Regions from separate parts of the Homo sapiens genome. Here region 2 is linked to region 1. Evidence: promoter capture Hi-C in 16 types of primary human blood cells and fetal thymus (Javierre and others, 2016). All regions are on one chromosome and are shown on one strand. The core of a region is centred on a gene start or on the middle of the fragment in contact, and the rest is flanking DNA. Distances in the headings are between cores, read along the strand shown. Region 1 holds the start of SCTR-AS1 (SCTR antisense RNA 1). Region 2 has its middle 93 kb from the start of MARCO.

Region 1 (3,105 bases), core at 238-2,737:
TATTTGGGGAACATGCTGCTCCCTCGAAGCCTCACTCAACACCCTACACTATGGGAACTGGGGGAAATGAGGTAGACAGGCTTGAAACCCGCTCCTCCAATTCCTGGCTTGGTAATGCTAGCTGCTGTAACAGACAATGCCCCACATCTCAAAGCCTTCATGCAAATTTGTCCACAGAAAGTCCAAAACAGGCTGGGTGCGGTGGCTCACACCTGTAATCCCAGTACTTTGGGAGGCCGAGGTGGGCGGATCTCCTGAGGTCGGGAGTTCGAGACCAGCCTGGCCAACATGGTGAAACCCCATCTCTTCTAAAAGTACAAAAATTAGCTAGGCGTGGTGGTGCACACCTGTAATCCCAGCTACTCAGGAGGCCGAGGCACGAGAATCACTTGAACCTGGGAGGCTGAGGTTGCAGTTAGCTGAGCTCGTGCCACTGCACCCCAGCCTGGGCGACAGAGTGAGACTCTGTCACAAACAAACAAACAAACAAACAAACAAACAAAAAACGTCCAGAACAGGAAACAGGTATTCCTGATTAGCAGGCAGCTCTCCTCTACACGGTGACCCCAGCACCCCACACCTCACAACCGTGGCATCACATAGTTTCCAGGCTGACTGGCGGAGAGGAAAGAACTCGGAGGACCACACAGCAGAGGTTCATAAGGGGCGGGCCTGGGAAGGATCCCACTCTGCCCACATTCCCTCGGCTAGAACTCAGTCACATGGCAACATCTAACTGCAAGGGACCTGGGGAAATGTCTTTTAGCTGGGTGCCAGTCAGCCCCGGGATCCAAGTTGCTCACTGCTGGGGAGCCTCAATTTTCTTGACTGTAAAATGGGGAAAATAAATAAGACCTGCCCTGTAAGGCTGTGCTTGGAAATAAATTTTGTCCCTTCTCCCCTACTCCTCTCCCTTCTTTTCCTTTTTCTCCTTCCCACCTTCCCTCCCCTACCCCTGCCACACACACCCCCGCAAGCTTACCAACTTTACCTGCCAGCGTGGCCCCTCCATGCTTGCCTCTGGGGTCCTGGGAGCTCAGGACACAGGAGATTAGTCCAGATGTGGCGGACCTAGAGCCCCAGGCTGGTCAGGTGCAAGGTCACGCCCAGACTCCACTTTCTGACTCCTGTGCAGTGCTCCTCCACAGCTGACCGGGTTTTTCTCCTGATGGAAAGGACTCGAAGCTCTTCTCCTTTGCAGCCGTCCCTTTTCAGCCTTCCCAGAGCCACAGCACCTCCGCCTCCCGCAGCACTGTCCCTTCTGCCCTGCAGAGGGGATAGGCGGAGCTGGTGCTCACGGCCACAAAGTGACCAGGTGCCAGTCCTGTCACATCCTTTCTCAATTAATTGCTTGAACCCCTCCCTGCCTCATTACGTAAAGGCTCAGTGTCTCCCTCTTGAGGCTCCCCTACCCTTGGATTGCTCATGGTCCGCGGCAGGAAGCTGGACCATGTCCACACAACGTGAGGATGGAAGCTGGGGTCCTGTGCCGACTCTGCTGCAGTTTCTTCTCGCCGCCACATGGTGTCGCTGTGGGCCTGCAGGGCCACACCAAAGGCCTGCCTATTGGGCTCTGGGCTCCCTCCAGGGTGGTGGGGGCCACGTTGTTCATACCCAGCCTGGGGGTGGGTGGCCCAAGAGCACAGGTCAACAGCTGTCTGGCCTCAATTTATCATCAAGAACTCCCACCCACCCCTCCTTCATCCCCATAGATCTACTTCTGGGTCTGATTAGACTCCTGCCCCTTCATCTCCCGGCAGGAAGGCAGGCTTCCCTAGGTGGTGCCCCCAACCCTAACCCCAGGGGGAGCGCCCAGTGAGGACAAGGTGCTCTGGAAAATAAATTAATTCTCCTTGAGGGCACCTACTACATGGGTCCTGACAGGAGGGGTGGGGTCCATGTGACTGGAGAAACCGCAGGCCGATTCTGCCCCCAGATGTTTCTGTTCATGCCAGGCCTAGAATGCTCCCTCTAGGGTGTATTCCTTTGATTCTGAAAAGGACGCTGGTCTTCCAGAGTTCCTTATTAAAAAACACAATTCCCCAGCGGCATCCCCTTGGCCCTCTTTCTCTTCCTACTTAGTGAGGATCTGGCCTTAAAGCGGTCATGCTTCCCAACCTGATTAGGGTCCCGGAGCCTTCTGAAAATCAGATGAAAGCTTTGGACTAGTCTTTCCCCGAACTGCATAAATATATATCTATATATCTATATATTTATATATATGCACATAATATATATATTTATTTTATATTTATAATATAATACAAATATAAATATAAATATCTATTTATATTATATATATAATATAAATATCTACATCTATATATATATATATATGCACAAACATCCTTTCAGGGGTCCCCTGAGGTGCACACTGGCCTGTGCCTGGTTAAGTTTCCCTTACCTATTAGGAATTCAGCCCTGGGGAAGTGGGGAGGCAGCTGCTTTGCAGCTCTACAGAGTGGAAGGCAGGGGGCCCTGCCTTGTTAGCAGCTCTGGGCACCTGGCCTGGGTCACATGCAGCATCTGTCTTGGGAGTCCTGCTGTGTCAGTGAGGAGAGGGCCCCAAACGGGCAGGCCTGCTGCCCTGGGCGAGCCCACAGGGAGCCCAGCCTCTAGGCACGCGCTGTCTTATAACCTTCGATTCTGGCCTTGGGGGAATTTGTGTTCCCTTAACTTGCTTTCCCATCCACCCAGCCTAAATTTGACCACCGTTGTTTCCCATCTGACAACCTAACTCTCTTGATTCAGTTCCAGAAACCTCCCCACCCCTCGCCTAAATTCCAAGATTCCAAGCCCCTCCCACTTCTGCCTATTTTAGAAAGGCCAAAAAGAGAGGGGAGTGATGCCTCGGTGCCCGCTCTGTGCCTGGCACCAGCCTAGGCATTTTCCGTGTGCTCTCATGTTCCCTGCTCACTCTTGCAGTGTGGGTGATTATTTTGTGGCACAGAGAAATGATGCACCGAAGGTCACACAGTGACCAAGAGGCTGCACTGGGTTTCAGACTCAGATCTGGCTGCTTCTAAACCTGCGCTCCAGGCCTCCTGAGCCTCCACAGGGCAGGCATGCCCAGATCTCAGAGGACACGGTCTCCTGGTCCTAGAC
Region 2 (3,186 bases), core at 437-2,936, 440 kb after region 1:
AGGTTTTTGAGGAACATCCAAATAGTTTTCTATGGTTGCTGTACTAATTTATATTCCCATCAACAATATATAAGTGTTCTTTTTCCACATCCGCACCTACATCTGTTATTCCCTTTCTTTTGGATAAAAGCCATTTAAGTTGGGGTGAGATGATATTTCATTGTGATTTTGATTTACATTTATCTTATAATGTTGAAAAATGTTGAACATTTTTTCCATATACCTATTATTTGTATGCTTTTTTTGGTAAATATCTATTCAGATCTTTTTGTCTGTTTTTAAATCAAATTATTTGCTTATTTTTGCTGTTGAGTTGTTTGAGCTCCTTATGTATTCTGGTTATTAACCTCTTGTCATAATCTGTCACGGGAGGAGAGAAAAAAATCTCTTGTCACACAGCTAGTTTGCAAATATTTACTCTTATTTCTGTGGGTTGTGTCTTCATTACGATGATTGCTTCCTTTGCTATGCAGAAGTTTTTAACTTGATGTAATCCCATTTGTAGTCCATTTTATCTAAAAAGCGTAGGTATTCCTGCTCTTTTTCTGGTTTTCAACTGCCTGGAATATCTTATTTCACCCCTTCACCTTCAGCCTATATATGTCTTTATAGGTGAAGTAGGTTTCTTGTAGGCAGCACAGAGTTGGTTCTTGTTTCCTTACCCACTCAGCCACTCTATGCCTTTTAATTGAAAAATTGTGTCAATTTTCATTGATTCTTTTTTTTAATGAGTAAGGATTTACTACGCTAATGTTGTTGCTTGCTTTCTGGTTGTTTTGTAAGTCCTCTCTTCCTTTTTCCTTTCTTACTGTCTTTTTTTGTGATTAAGTGATTTTCTCTGGTAGGATGTTTTAATTCATTGCTTTTGTTTCTAGTGAATCTCTTATTGGTTTTTGCATCATTGTTACCATGAGGCTTACACAACACATCTTATAGATATAACAAGTTATTTTAAAGTGATGACAACTTATTTTAGATGACAATTAAAAGAATAGAAACAAAGAAACAATTTTAAAACTTGACACTTTAATTCCACCCCTGCCTACATTTTGACTTTGTGTTGTCTCTTAACAGGTTGCTATATCTATTATTATTTTTGACAGCTTTGTCTTTTAATCTTCATAGTAGGGCTGCTCTGCCTGTGGAGTAGATAACACCTTTTCATTCCTTTACTTTCTTGATAAACTGGCTTTCACTTAAAAAAAATCTTCATAGTAGAATTGTGAGTGAATTGCACACCACGATTGCAGTATTAGAGTATTCTAGGTTTGTCTGTGTACTTAATTTTACCAGTGAGTTTTATACTTTTACATGTTTTATTTTTGTATGTTAGTGTTTTTTTTTTTTTCTTCAGATTTTAGACTTCCTTTTGCAATCCTTGTAAGACACGTCTGGTGTCTGACAAGATTTTCTTTCAGATTGTAGACTTCCTTTTGCAATTCTTTTAATACAGGTCTGGTGGTGGTGAATTTTCTCAGCTTTTCATCTGGAAAAGCTTTATCTCTCCTTCATATTTGAAGGATAGCTTTGCTGGACACAGTATTCTTGGATGGCAGTTTTTCATTGTTTTGTTTTTTAGTTTCGCACTTTGAAAATGTCATCCCATTCCTGCCCTGTATGATTTCCATTGAGAAATCTGTTGCCAAATGAATTGGAGATCCTTCATACGTTATTGACTTATTTTCTCTTTGTACTTTTAAGATCTTCTCTTCATCCTTGACCTTTGAGAGTTTGATTATTATGTGACTTGTGTATTATTTGGTTTGAATCTGTTTGGTTTTCTCTGACTTTCATATAGCTGGATATTTCTCCCTTTCTCAAGTTTTGAAGTTTTCTGGTTTTTTTTTTTGTTTCTGTTTTGGTTTAAATAAGCTTTCTTCCCCTTGCTCTTGCTATACTCCATCTTGAACAACAGTAATTCTTAAATTTGTTCTTTTGAGGTAATTTTCTGTATCTTGTAGGTGACCTTCATTTTTTTATTCTTTTTTTTCTTTTTTCTACTCCAACTGTATTTTCAAATAGCCTATCTTTGAGTTCACTGGTTATTTCCTCTATTTTACCTATTCCACTATTGAGAGTCTCTAATGAATTTTTCAGTTTAGCAAAAGTCTTTATCAGTTCCAAGGGTTCTATTTGATTTTTTAAGTACTTTATTCTCCTTGTTAAATTTCTCTAATAAATTTCCAAATTGCCTTTCTGTGTTGTCTTGGAAATAATGAGTTACATTGAAGGATTATTTATTCTAGTCTTCCCTGTCTGGCTTATTCTGATTTTTCTCTTAGGTATGTTTGCTTAGAGATTCTTTGTGACTTATAATTTATCTGTTAATTTTCTTTTCTTTTTTTATTATACTTCAGGTTCTAGGGCACATGTGCACCACGTGCAGGTTTGATACATAGGTATACATGTGCCATGTTGGTTTGCTGCACCCATCAACTCATCATTTACATTAGGTATTTCTCCTAATGCTATCCCTCCCCCAACCCCCCACCCCCTGACAGGCCCCAGTGTGTGACGTTCCCCACCTTGTGTCCAACTGATCTCATTGTTCAATTCCCACCTATGAGTGAGAACATGCAGTGTTCGGTTTTCTGTCCTTGTGATAGTTTGCTGAGAATGATGGTTTCCAGCTTCATCCATGTCCCTGCAAAGGACATGAACTCATCATTTTTTATGGTGGCAGGGTATTCCATGGTGTTTATGTGCCACATTTTCTTAATCCAGTCTATCATTGATGTACATTTGTGTTGGTTCGAAGTCTTTGCTATTGTGAATAGTGCCGCAATAAACATACATGTGCATGTGTCTTTATAGTAGCATGATTTATAATCCTTTGGGTATAACCCCAGTAATGGGGTTGCTGGGTCAAATGGTAATTCTAGTTCTAGATCCTTGAGGAATCACCACACTGTCTTCCACAATGGTTGAACTAATTTAAACTCCCAGCAACAGTGTAAAAGTGTTCCTATTTCTCCACATCCTCTCCAGCATCTGTTTTTTCCTGACTTTTTAATGATTGCCATTCTAATGGCATGAGATGGTGTCTTATTGTGGTTTTGATTTGCATTCCTCTGATAACCAGTAATGATGAGCATTTTTTCATGTGTCTGTTGGCTGCATAGATGTCTTTTTTTGAGAAGTGTCTGTTCATACACTTCGCCCACTTTTTGATGGGGTTGTTTGTTT

What was found. Contacts are between HindIII fragments. The CHiCAGO score rates a contact against its expected background, and 5 or more counts as called.
Region 2: a contact is called between a fragment that was not itself captured here and the fragment with the promoter of SCTR-AS1 in region 1, in 1 of 17 cell types (M2 macrophages). The highest score is 5.1, in M2 macrophages.

Annotation. Positions count from the first base shown.
Region 1 is chr2:119,474,836-119,477,940 of GRCh38, reverse strand. It overlaps SCTR-AS1 (SCTR antisense RNA 1), which reads right to left and starts at 1,487. Exons shown (of 2, transcript NR_147847.1): 1 at 983-1,487. The region is part of intron 3 of SCTR (secretin receptor); the gene reads left to right. RefSeq lists an enhancer at 2,620-3,105. The HindIII fragment of the contact is 1,181 bases long and covers 980-2,160 here.
Region 2 is chr2:119,033,558-119,036,743 of GRCh38, reverse strand. No RefSeq gene overlaps it. Among named protein-coding and RNA genes, the nearest start is that of MARCO, 93 kb to the right of the region's middle. The HindIII fragment of the contact is 377 bases long and covers 1,498-1,874 here.